Linked DNA regions of Homo sapiens: region 1 is linked to region 2. The links are contacts of gene promoters, found by promoter capture Hi-C in blood cells and fetal thymus (Javierre and others, 2016). All regions are on one chromosome and are shown on one strand. Each heading gives the region's core, a stretch centred on a gene start or on the middle of the fragment in contact. The rest is flanking DNA. Distances are from core to core; before and after follow the strand shown. Region 1 holds the start of LINC02768 (long intergenic non-protein coding RNA 2768). Region 2 holds the start of LGALS8 (galectin 8).

Evidence for each region. The method cuts DNA at HindIII sites, captures the fragments that hold promoters and counts their contacts. A CHiCAGO score of 5 or more calls a contact.
Region 1: a contact is called between a fragment that was not itself captured here and the fragment with the promoter of LGALS8 in region 2, in 3 of 17 cell types (total B cells, fetal thymus and activated CD4 T cells). The highest score is 5.8, in total B cells.

Annotation. Positions count from the first base shown.
Region 1 is chr1:235,967,726-235,974,501 of GRCh38, forward strand. LINC02768 (long intergenic non-protein coding RNA 2768) reads right to left here and starts at 4,786. Exons shown (of 3, transcript NR_183724.1): 1 at 4,036-4,786. RefSeq lists a silencer at 1,310-1,510 and an enhancer at 4,325-4,374. The HindIII fragment of the contact is 718 bases long and covers 3,590-4,307 here.
Region 2 is chr1:236,521,674-236,528,315 of GRCh38, forward strand. LGALS8 (galectin 8) reads left to right here and starts at 2,309. Exons shown (of 10, transcript NM_201544.4): 1 at 2,309-2,388; 2 at 4,295-4,442. The coding sequence starts at 4,398. It overlaps LGALS8-AS1 (LGALS8 antisense RNA 1), which reads right to left and starts at 2,835. Exons shown (of 1, transcript NR_034040.1): 1 at 1,396-2,835. RefSeq lists a silencer at 2,602-2,651. The HindIII fragment of the contact is 5,952 bases long and covers 1-5,362 here.

The sequences.
Region 1 (6,776 bases), core at 2,699-5,198, 550 kb before region 2:
GTGGTGGGTGCCTGTAATCCCAGCTACTTGGGAGGCTGAGGCAGAGAATTGCTTGAACCCAGGAGGCAGAGGTTGCAGTGAGCCGAGATCGCGCCATCACACTCCAGCCTGAGTGACAGAGCAAGACTTCATCTCAAAAAAAAAAAAAAAAAAAATTAAAAAACAGTAGATGTTGGTGTGGATGAGGTGATCAGGGAACAGTTCTACACTGCTGGTGGGAATGTAAACTAGTATGGCCTCTATGGAAAACCGTGTGGAGATTCCTTAAATAACTAAAAGTAGAACTACCATTGGATCCAGCAATCCTACTACTGGATATCTACCCTGAGGAAAAGTCATTATACAGAAAAGATACTTGCACATGCATGTTTATAGCAGCACAATTCACAATTGCAAAATTGTGGAACCAACCCAAATACCCACCAATCAACAAGTGGATAGAGATACTGTGAGATAGAAGATAGATAGATAGATGATAGATAGATATCTGGTGGGCATCCTCATCTAGATATCTATCATCTATCTATCTATCTATCTATCTATCTATCTATCTATCTATCTATCTATCTGATGGAATACTACTCAGCCAAAAAAAGGAATGAATTAATGGCATTCACAGTGATCTGGATGAGATTGGAGACTATTACTCTAAGTGAAGTAACCCAGGAATGGAAAACCAAACATCGTATATTCTTACTGATATCTAGGAGCTAAGCTATGAGGATGCAAAGGCATAATAATGATGCAATGGGTTTGGGGATTGGGCGGAAGGGTGGGAGGGGGGTGAGGGATAAAAGACTACAAATATGGTGCAGTGTATACTGCTTGGGTGATGAGTGCACCAAAATCCCACAAATCACCACTAAGGAACTTATTCATGTAACCAAATACCACCTGTTCCCCAATTACCTATGGAAAAAAACACCCAAAATGCTTGGGAACAGAAATGTTTTGGATTTTGGATTTTTTTTTAAATATTGGAATATTTGCGTTATACTCACCAGTTGAGCATCCCTGATCCAAAAATGAGAAATCCAAAATGTGCCAATATTCATTTCCTTTGAGCATGACCTTTGAGCATCATATCGGCACTCGAAGAGTTTTGAACTTTGGAGTATTTCAGATTTTATAAATTTTGGATTAGGGCTGCTCAGCCTGTTTTCTCTCTCATGGTCTGAAATTGACTGGGGTCTCCTGGACCATTCTTGTGAGACTGCGGTCAGACAGTGGCTTGGGCTGGAGTCACGGGGGCGGTCTCTTTGTTTGCATGTCTAGTGATTGATGTCTGCTGTAGGCTGAGGCTACAGTTGGAGCTGCCACCCCAGGCACATGGCCTCTTCATGTGGCCTGAGCTTCCTCCTATCACAGAACCGGAGAGAGAGAATCCCAAGAAGACTGGACGGAAGCTGTTTCACCTTGTATGACCCAGCCTCAGAACCCACATGTCATCCCCTCTGCTATAGTCATAGGCCCATCCAGATTCAAGGAGAGGGACATAGGCCCTAGTTCTTGGTGAGAGGAATGTCAATATCACATCGACACACCATTGTAAGAATATGTGGGGTGGGAGATTGTGTTCAGGCCATTTTGGAAAATACCATATGCCACAGGGTGCAGCCTGGACATTTTCCGCCTCATGACTTCTTGGCTGGTACTTTTGTTCTAATTCGTACTGAGCAGGAATTGACTACATGTAGATTAAAACCTTCCGTATGTCCCCAAATCCCCCAGAACAAAAAACCAACAAAAAAGCTGGGCGCAGTGGCTCACGCCTGTAACCAGCACTTTTTGAGAGGTTGAGGCTGGCAGATCATGAGGTCAGGAGTTCAAGACCAGCCTGGCCAACATGGTGAAACCCCATCTCTACTAAAAATACAAAACTTAGCCAGGTGTGGTGGCACATGCCTGTAATCCCAGCTGCTGGAGAGGCTGAGGCAGGAGAATAGCTTGAACCCAGGAGACAGAGGTTGCAGTGAGCCAAGATTGCAGTGAGCCAAGATCACGCCATTGCACTCCAGCCTGGGCAACAGAGCAAAACCCTGTCTCAAAAAAACAAACAAACAAACAAACAACAACAACAACAACAAACCCTTGGGGAATATTATTTGCAAAATAGACAACAAAAGGTTAATTAGCTTTAAAATGTAAAGGACACTTATAAATCAGTGAGATTCTCCCAATTAGAAAAAAGAACTGAGGACTAGAAGGACAATTGACAAAAGAACTTTAAGTGGCTAGTGTGCATTTCAAAAGTTTACCGCAACTTAAAGAGTGTAATTTTTTTTCTTTTTAGAGACTGAGCCTCAGTATGTTGCCCAGGATGGGCCTCAAACTCCTAGCTTCAAGCAGTCCTCCCATGTTGGCCTCCCAAAGTGCTGGGATTACAGGCGTGAGTCACTGCAACCAGCCAATAATGTAAATTTTAATAAACAAACACCACCTATGTAATTGGCAAAAATGAAAAAATAAACTATGCAAAGGCAAAAACATAGGTAAACGGGCCCTCTCCAACACTCCCGCTGGTGGAAGTATAAAGTGGTACAAACTTTCTGTAAGGCAGTTGGGGAGTATCTATTGAAAGTCTTAAATTTTTAAATAATCCTGAGTTGAAATTTATCCTAAAGATATTAATAAGGACACTGAGGGTCGGGCGTGGTGGCTCATGCCTGTAATCCCAGCACTTTGGGAGGCCGAGGCGGGTGAATCATGAGGTCAGGAGATTGAGACCATCCTGGATAACATGGTGAAACCACATCCCTACTACAAATATAAAAAATTAGCTGGGCATGGTGGCACATGCCTGTGGTCGCAGCTGCTCGGGAGGCTGAGGCAGGAGAATTGTTGAACCCGGGAGGCGGAGGTTGCAGTGAGCTGAGATTGCACCACTGCACTCCAGCCTGGGCAACAGAGCGTGACTCTCAAAAAAAAAAAAAAAAAAAAAAAAAGGACACTGATATTAGTATGTGGGTGTTTATTGGTTTATTGTTATTTATCACATCAAAAAACACATAGAAACACCCTAAAAGTTCATCAATAAATGAACTGGTGAGAGTTTATTGTCCATATAATAGAGTATGATACTATTATGTAGTTGATCAAAGTAATGTTCATATGCACATTTATTTAAATGGAAAACAAAAATACGGAAAAGTATCACAGGATCACATTTTTTGTTATATATATATCTTACAAAAATATATGTAAAAGTATTGTGTGTGTGTGTTTACAACATTTCTGGACAAGATTGTAGTGATGAGGCCATTATTGAGTAATGAAATTACTGTTATTTGTTTTTCTTGTGCCTTTATTTTCCAACTTTCTAAATGAAAATGTGCTGAATACAAATAAATAATAATGTAAGATAAAGTAAAAATAAATTTTCATTTAAGGTATTTCTTAAAAAGGGGGGTGAGGAAGGGTATTTAGAGTAAACCAAATCTGGAACTGGACTCTGCTCTGACGGCGTGACCTTTGCCAAGTTACTTCACCTCCTTAACCCTCAGTTTCCTGACTTACTCAATGGGCACAATAAATTCTACTACATAAGGTTATCCTGAGTTAGTTTTCCCATTTCCATCCAGCTAATAAAAGCTTCTTGCTGCACTCTCTCTCCTGAGCCTTCTCCCTTCTCTGATCCCCTTAACAAAGTGGTTCGAAGCAATCATTTAGCATCACCTGTTATTACTACCTGCTTAGTGACTAGACGCCCACTTATTTGCAAAAGCCCTGCATTTTCTGGAATTAGCCTGCTATTCCGTGTTTTCCACTTAGATTCACTCAGAACCTGGTCCATAAGGAGACGTATGCACTTTTGCATACACAGAATACACTCAGGAATACTTCTGTGTTTTCGTACCTCGGTGTAAGATGCTGAGCCCACGGCTGGGGATCTCGTGTGACGAATGTCTGCAAATGTTTGAGTAAGGAGATGACTTGGGGAGGAAAAGGGCTGGGCTATTTGGTGGAAATCTGAATTTAGATGAAGAGGCTTGACCATAATTGGGAAGTTCTTTTGCTAGCAGTTGGGCAACTCACCAATATGAAGAAAGCTCTTGAGTGGGACGATGGGAAGGCCCGAGCATAGCTTCTTTTGGGGAAGTTATCCGGGTAGCCAGGCCTGGGACGCTCCCCGCGCTCCGCCCTCACTTCTCTCTTCCCCCAAAAACAGGCATTGAGAGGCTCTTACTGCCCTCACGTGGCCCCTTCTGGAACTGTCTTTGAGGAGACCCGCCCAGATTTAAACTGAATCACGGGGGCTGGAGAGCACACACGCAGGCTTGCCAGTTAAGCTCATCTGTCCCCACTTAAGCTTCTAGCTACCAGGAAGCCGCTCTTCGAGCCTGTTTTCAAGCCTTTTTGGCCCTTCCGTCTCTTAAGTCCATGTTGTCTGAGCAAAGACCCTTTCTCCGTTGTAAGGAATTCTAAATCCTTTCGGCTGCAGCTTTCAGCAGCGCCTGGCATCCTGGCGGATGAGAAAAAGGGGAAAAACAGCAGCCCAACTTGAGAACCAGAGCTGGGCCGTGACGCTGCTGCGGGGGACTCTGGGTCCCGTCTTCCCCGCTTTCGAGACCTGTGGTCTTCAAATGTGCTCGATAGTACACTCCCTAAAAGAATTTTTGCAAAGTCCTGTTTTTCCCTGTTAAATCAAGTTTAGCTTAAAGCTACTCACATATTTTAAGTTCAGCCTAAAGGTTTCTCTGTGCCTGTAACCTAAAGGGAAGTGTAAATAGTCCCTCTCCCCCTTCACCCTCTCCTCTCCCGCTTTCTGTTTCTGCCTTATCTCTCTGACTCTTCTGCCTCCCTCCTCTGTTTTTAAGGGCCTGCCTGGATAACCCAGGATAATTTGCCTGTTTTAACGTCAGCTACTTAGTCATCTAAATTCCATCTGCAAAGTCCCTTCAGAGCAGTACAAAATTAGAATCTTGAAATCTTTAGAATTCGGCCAGCCACAACAACGATCAGCATTTTGCCAACCTTAGGTATCCAGGAGTTTTTGTTTTTAATTACAGTGATTTTTAAAAAACAGCTTATTTATTTATTTGACAGGGTCTTGCTCTGTGGCCCAGGCTGGAGTGCAGCGGCATGATCATAGCTCACTGTAACCTCAAACTCCCGGGCTCAAGCAATCCTCCTGCCTCAGCCTCCTGAGTAGCTAGGACTACAGGCACTTGCCACTACACCCGGCTAATTTTTAAAAGATTTTGTAGAGATGGGGGTCTCACTATATTGCCCAGGCTGGTCTCAAATTACTGGCCTCAAGTTGTCCTCCTGCCTCAGCCTCCTAAAGTGCTGAGATTACAGATGTGAGCCACTGTGCCCACCCAAAACAGCTTTATTGAGATATAATTCACATGCTATGTAATTCACCCAAAGTGTACCTGCAATGGTTTTGGGTATATTACATTATTAATTTTAAAAATTGTAAAATATGTATATATCATGAAATTTGCCATGTTAATAATTTTTTTTTTTGAGACAGAATCTTGCTCTGTTGCCAGGCTGGAGTGCAATGGCACGATCTCAGCTCACTGCAACCTCCGCCTCCCGGGTTCAAGCGATTCCTCTACCTCAGCCTCCTGAGTAGCTGGGACTACAGGTGCGCACCACCGCACCCGGCTAATTTTTTACATTTTAGTAGAGACGGGGTTTCACCATGTTGGCGAGGATGGTCTTGATCTCCTGACCTTGTGATCCGCCCGTCTTGGCCTCCCAAAGTGCTGGGATTACAGGCGTGAGCCACCGTGCCCAGCCATTAATAATTCTTAAGTGTACAAGTCACTGACATTTATTACATTCGCAATATTGTGCAACCATCACCACTATTTCCAATACTTTTCATTTTCCCAGGTAAGAATTCTGTAGCCATCGAGCAATAACTCTCCATTCCACCTCCCCACAGCCCCCGGTAACCTTTGATCTACTTTCAGTCTCCATGAATTGGTACATTCTAGATACCTCATATAAATGGAAGCGCATATATTGCTTGATAGTTTGTGTCTGGCTTATTTCCCACAGCATAATGTCCTGACGGTTCATCTGTGTTGTAGCATGTATCAGGATTTCATTTGTTAGGCTCAGTGATATTCCATTTTATGTACATAACGTATTTTGTTTATCCATTCATCTGTTGATGGACACTTGGGTTGTTTCCATCTTTTGGCTACAGTGAATGATATTGCAATGGACAGTAACACAGAAGCATCTGTTCCAGCCCTTGTTTTCTATTATTTTGGGTATAGTCCTAGGAGTGGAACTGCTGGATCATATAGTAATTCTATATTCAACTTTTTGAGGAACCACCAAGCTGTCTGTTTTCATTCCCATCAGCAACGGACAACGTTTCCAGATGCTCTCCAGTACTTGTTTTGTTTTGTTTTGTTTTGATAAAAGCCATCTTAATACTGTAAACTGGTGTCAAATTGTGGTTTTTATTTGCATTTACCTAATGACTAATGATATTGAGCATCTTTTCATATGCTTATTGGCCATTTGTATATCTTCTTCATATAAATGTTTATTCAAATCCTTTACTCATTTTTAAATTGTTTGCTTTTGTTGTTGAAATGTAGTTATATTCTGAATATTAATTCCTTATCACATATAGAGTTTGCAAATATTTTCTCCCATTCCATGGGTTGTCTTTTTACTCTCTTGATAGTATCCTTTGATGCAAAAATGTTAATTTTGATGAAGTCCAGCTTACCTGTTTTTTTCTTTCGTTGCTGGTGCTTTTGATATGTCCAAGAAATGTTTGACAAACCCAGTATCATGAAAAT
Region 2 (6,642 bases), core at 1,059-3,558:
AAAACTTAGCTGGGCATGGTGGCGCGCACCTGTAGTCCCAGCTACTCAGGAGGCTGAGGCACATGAATCACTTGAACACGGTAGGCAGAGGCTGCAGTGAGCTGAGAATGTAACACTGTACTCCACTCCAACCTGGGCAACAGAGTGAGACTGCCTCAAAAAAAAAAAAAAGTAGGTTTTAGTAAGGGATTAACATGATCTGAATTATGTTTTGTCATGACTTCTCTGGCTGTTGTGTTGAGACTACATTGCAGAGGGGCAAGGGCAAATATAGGGAGACCGATTAGGATACTGCAGTAATAATGTAAGAGATGTGGGACTCTATCTAGAAGGGCCCATGAGGTCCTTTGCATGCTAGTATTCTTTACTGCTGTGCCTGGCCATGATAGGCATTCAGTGAATATTTGCTTATTTAAAATAACACACTGGGCTAATTGAACAACAGTGCCAAATGAGGGAGATATTTCTAGGAATAAGTTCTTAGGATTTATGAACATTTTAATCCAGATTTTCTTTGTTAACTCTGCTCTCTGGCCCTTTCACTCAGCCCCGTTTGCACCTAAATATGACTTACAAAAGAAACACAGCATTTATGTGTACTTATTTCAACTTATTTTAGCTTTGTAAAGAAGTACAAGGTTGACTCAGGGCCCAGCTTGGTGTCTCATGCCTGTAATTTCAGCATTGTGGGAGGCCAAGGCAGGAAGATATTGTGAGCCCAGGAGTTTGAGACCAGCCTGGGCAACACAGTGGACCCTGTCTCTACAAAAAAAAATTTTTAAATTAGCTGGGCATAGTGGTGTGCGTCTATAGTCCCAGCTACTCCTGGGGCTGAGGTGGGAGGATCACTTGAGGGAAACCCTGTCTCAAAGTGGCGGGGCTGGGGGGAGACTCAGGCAGAATTGTGAAGATATTCAATTGCTCCTGACTTTATCAATAATCTAACATTTCAACCTAACATTGATATCTATTTTATGCAAAGCATTACACTATGCACTGGAGACTGTATAAGACAAGTTCCTTTTCTCAAACTACAGTCGAGTTGGATAGATAAAACACACAACACATACCAAAAGACAGCTATAAATCCAAGGCAGTGTATGTCAAGGGTAAATTCACCTATTCAGATTGGATCTTGAGAAGTGCATCAGGCTTGGAAAATGGGTAAGGAGGAGAGAAAAGCAACAGTGAATCAGAACATGAGTTCCCAGTTATGGGACTTGTAATGAATTCCTCAATTAAAACAAAAAATAATGAAAACAAAAGCCAGGGAGGAGAAAGCCCACGTTAATGACACTAAAATATATCTTTCCAAACAAATGTGGATAAAAGCCAAGTAGAGAAGATGAGAACTTTGAGGTCCCTAACAGAAAATAAACAGTAAGCAGCCAGCCATTCCAAGTGGCTGACATGACTTTGTTTAACTTTATTTGTATTTCTGGCTGGTGTGTTTACAGCCAATAGGTCAAACTATCAGTCAGTGTAGGGCCCTGAGAAGTCGGGTATTTAAGAGCATCTAATAGGCACAGAATTGTGCTCCATACTGCTTAAACTGTTCCCTAAGTGTCCAATTTGGAGAAAACACCCACACGCAGGATAACTGGCGAGTGACGCGGAGTGGCTGCGAGTCCAAGTTATCACTAACGGATGGGGAGCTTGGGCTGGGCACAGTCCAGCGTACTGAACCCTTCCCCCACCGTTTCACCTGCATACAGAGGTGTGTACTGTCAAAAAGCAGCGCCTCCAAGTCTCTTCTGGCACTGTCTGGACTTGGATCCGAGGCAGACGAGGAAGCTGAGAAAACCCTGGCGTTGACCCCGTGGACCTGGGCGCCCCGGGAAGGCCAGCGCTTGGTCCAGGCAGGCGGGGCCTGTGCGGTGACCACCCTGGTCCTGAAAAGTCCCAGCCCCGAGCGCCCTCCCTCCTAGACCTGGAGGCCTGGAACAGCCAGGTGGACGTCGGCCCACCTTTCTTTTCTTTCCTTCCCATTTTCCTACCACCTCCCACCCCACTCCGCCTTCCGGGCAAAGGCAGCCAGATCCACCCAGGACACATTCTTTGTCCTTATCCCTCTGTGCTCGTCCCACAGCAAGCCAGTCGCGGTCCAAGGCTCCAGAGGCTGTGCAGGAGGCCGAGCTGGGTGGCGATCAGCGGCGGGTCCCTGTCCAAAACCCAGCAGAGCCGCCAGGGACGCCCCAGACACAGAAGGCGGGGCGCGGGGAGGGTGGGGAGACCACAGCAGTGAGGCGCGCGAGCCGGGAAGTGAACGAGGACTGACTCCTGTCGCTTCCCGTAGCCGCCCACGGACGCCAGAGCCGGGAACCCTGACGGCACTTAGCTGCTGACAAACAACCTGCTCCGTGGAGCGCCTGAAACACCAGTCTTTGGGTGAGTCGCGCGACCCCCGGCCTCGGGTGGCGGGGCAGTCGCTAGAGGCGTGGCTGCTCTGAGGGTCTCGCCAGTGGAGGATGGCATTCGGATGTCACGGCTCCTAAATCACCATTTGATGGGTGGGACAGTGTCCAGTCCACCCCGACCCGCCGGTCCTCACCGCGGCAGAGCCGGGGCTGGGTGGCGGGGACGCTGCCTCTGCAGGCGAGGCGCTCCGGGGCATAAGGGATTATCAGGAGTCGCGGCCTTTCTTGGACATCCCTGGCTGGGGTCAGGCTGTTTGCCCTGGGGTGTCTCCTCGCTGCAAACCCACCCCACCTGGGCTGCTTTCTCACCTGTTCCCTCCTAGCCTGAGGCCGAGCGCCACCTCCAAGTGGAGGAATCTGGGGAAGTTTCCTTCCCGGAATTTGTAGTGACAGTGGAGTGACCTCCATTGCGTTCCCTGCCTCTAACACGCTCTTTAGGATGCCGAGTCATTTGACTGCAGTGTTAAACATTGCAAAGCGCAAGTCATGTGACTTCCTTTGACCGTACGTGAAACTTAAGTGATGGCTGCTTGTGATGCATACGAAGTGTTCATGCTGGCGGGACCTGTCCCTGGGGATACTTCGGGGGTTGCGTGATTTAATGCAAGCAGATGGCTTAAATTGGGTCACTGGCTTGTTATTATACATGTGTATGGCAACTCGGCATCCATTCTTTTTGCTCTTGTTCTTACTTCCTGAATTGAGTCACGGAGCCAGAGTTTTGAGGTTTTGACTAACGAATTAAGTTAATGACATGGGGCTATATTTAGGTGGTAAACCAAGAGGGATACAGTTTTTTTTCTTAATAAAGAAAAAGTGATAGATTTGATCGGTGTGTATTGTTGGTGTGCAGTATAATGACAGAATTGCTGGAAGTAAAATACAGGAAGCTCTGGTTTCATTTCCCCTTTAGTTCTGCTTAAAGTCGAGTTTTTCCTGGAGCTATTAAATGTAGTGTAGTGTCCATGAGTGCTTTTATCTTAAAAAATGTGGCTGATGCTTTCCAACACTCCCCTGCCCTGTGATTATTATTTTTTTAAGCAACAGAGAAAACCGTATCTTAATAGTATTAAAAGTATTGGATTTTTCCCTACTTTGATTTGTTTAAATTGGAGGAGGAAGAGCAATTCTTTCTATTCACAATAATAATAGCTAACATAGCGCTTACTCTTTCGCTGTTTTATTAACTCAATCCTCAGAACAAACCAATGATGTGAATACTGTAATTCTCATTTTATGGAAATGAAAATCTAAATGAATACCTCTGGTAATTGTACGGGACTGTTTGATTAGTATTTACCATTAATTAATTAAATTTTTTTTTTTTTTTGAGATGGAGTCTCGTTCTGTTGCCCAGGCTGGAGTGCAGTGGCACAATCTCGGCTCACTTCAACCTCCGTCTCCCAGGTTCAAGCAATTCTCCTGTCTCAGCCTCCTGAGTAGCTGGGACTACAGGTGCATGCCACTACGTCTGGCTAATTTTTGTATTTTTAGTAGGGATGGGATTTCACCATATTGGTCAGGCTGGTCTCTAACTCCTGAACCTCAGGTGATCCACCCGCCTTGGCCTCCCAAAGTGCTGGGATTACAGGTGTGAGCCACCATGCCTGGCCTATTTTAGTATTTTTAATAATAAATTCCATGTTAGAAATTTTCTACTGATGTATTTTTTAAGTCAATATTTCCTACACTCACAATCCAAAATTATTTAGTATATGAGCACACTGGTAAGAATGGGAGGCAGATCGTTGATTGTAATAATATTCTATTATTTGGTAAATATCAGTAACATAATATATAATTTAAATTTTAAAATAGGATATGAAGAAAAATGCTACATGCTTACTTTTCTTTTCCTCTATTTTTACTTTACACAGGGCCAGTGCCTCAGTTTCAATCCAGGTAACCTTTAAATGAAACTTGCCTAAAATCTTAGGTCATACACAGAAGAGACTCCAATCGACAAGAAGCTGGAAAAGAATGATGTTGTCCTTAAACAACCTACAGAATATCATCTATAACCCGGTAACTGATTTCTATAAGATAACTTTTTACCTATGCCAGGACAGATCCAATAGAATATTAATTATCCATTGGGAGACAGGGCAAGAATAAAAGCCAGTGAACATATTTAAAGCACCTACTATGTAATAGAGATGGTGGTGGGTGCTGATTACAAAACAGCTCTTGTCCTCTAGTGGAGGAAGAAGTCACAATGATAATATGACGTGATGAAACAGTGTTATGAACAGGGAACGTCTGGGTAGAGTGGAGGGAATGCCAACTTTTGGTGATGGGAGGAGGCTCAGCTAATCATAAATTGTAGTTTTTAAAGGAAAATGGATTTCTTACTCTACAAGTTTTTCATTTTCTTTTTTAATTAGAGCTGTCCATGAGAAGTTAATGTCTCGATCTTTCCCTCAGCCTTTCAAATACTGCTTGGCCCTTGAGCAGGGAAAATGTCAAAAGCCAATGGGGAGATGGAGAGTGTGAAGTAGTAAGGGTCTCGTGCAGTTCAGGCAGGTCCTAGAATCCCTGAATGACTGTAATTGCTGGAAATTGCCCTGTAATCCTGAGCAGTAAAGAGCTTGTTTTAGTTTTATGTGGTGGTGAGAATCTTTAGGAATGTCTAGTTTCCACGTATCTGAAGCTGAATCCTGAATCGAGGTCTGAAAAAGGACAGCCACTTTTTTAGTAAACCGCCTAGAAGATTCTTGGGCAAAAGGAAGGGTGAGAATCCTTAAAATGAGGCCCTAAACCAGTTTTGTTAGTGTGTGTGGGTTCAAGTTTTTGTCATTTACTTTATAGCTGTATTTCCTTTTTCCCTAAGTTTTAATGTCATTGTGTAAGAATGAGGTATCGCTGCTGTATCAAGCAAAGTCAGTTTTAGGAGAAATAGCCTTTCAGTGGTAGTAAGTTTAAAAAAGATGACTTCCTGAAGCGGAAGCTTGTGAGACATTTAAGATGACTTTGCGCATGTTAGAGTTAAAAACATCCCAAGGTTGTAAACTGATTTCCTGCAAAGATCTTAACAACAACAACAACAACAAACTAGGCTGCCTGCCACGGGTGTCTGAAGTATCATCTTGGCTCAAGCTGGGAGAATGGATAAAGGTTACACTGTTCATTTCTGCCCTTCACACAGAAAAGAAGATAATTTTATAGGTAAAATTCGTGCATATCTTGATTCTAGCATACTGCTGATTCCTGTAGTTTCTGGGGTCAGTACTCTCAACTATTGAGGTGGAACAAAAATAAGTAGACTTCATTTCTTGAGGAAGGGGATCTGGAGAAGTAGTTCTGCGCTAGAGCAGAAAATGCCTTCAGTCTTGTGGCATGGGCTGGATGCTGTTCTGAGGATAATGCATTTCCAAGGGAGATATTTTTGGCAAATAGCTTTTTTTTCTTTCTTTTCAAAATTCTCTGTTTTATTATCAGTTCTCACAAAAGAGTCGGAAAGGTTAGAGGTAGACTGAACTGAATGGCAAAAACATTTTGCGCTCTCTTTACGTTTCACTGCTGTAAAATATTTATAGTATAAAGGGCCTGTATTGCACTGAATTTCTCTCATTTGTAGCTAGTTGCCCTTTCAATGTTCCAAAAAAAAAGGCTGTAAATAACTTATTTTATTTATTCAATTAATTTTTTTTTTTTAATTTTTTGAGATATAGTTTCCCTCTGGTCACCCAGGCTGGAGTGAAATGATGCAATCTCGGCTTACTGCAATTTCTGCCTCCCGGGTTCAAGCAATTCTAGTGCCTCAGCCTCCTGAGTAGCTGGGACTGCAGGCACGTGCTACCATGCCCGGCTAATTTTTGTGTTTTTAGTAGATATGGGGTTTCACAGTGTTGGCCAGCCTAGTCTCAAACTCCTGACCTCAGGTGATGTGCCCACCTTGACCTCCAAAAGTGCTGGGATTACAGGCGTGAGGCACCATGCCTGGCCAACTTAGTTATTTAAAGATAATCAATTAGTATATTTTATAAGCTAGACTTAGGAAAACGGTTTTCAGCTGGGCATGGTGGCTCACACCTGTAATCCCAGCACTTTGGGAGGCCGAGGCAGGTGGATCACGAGGTCAGGAGTTCAAGACCAGCCTGGCCAAGATGGCGAAACTCCGTCTCTACTTAAAAATACAAAAATTAGCCAGGCGTGATGGCAGCCTCCTGTAATCCCAGCTACTCGGGAGGCTGAGGCAAGAGAATCACTTGAACCTGGGAGGCGG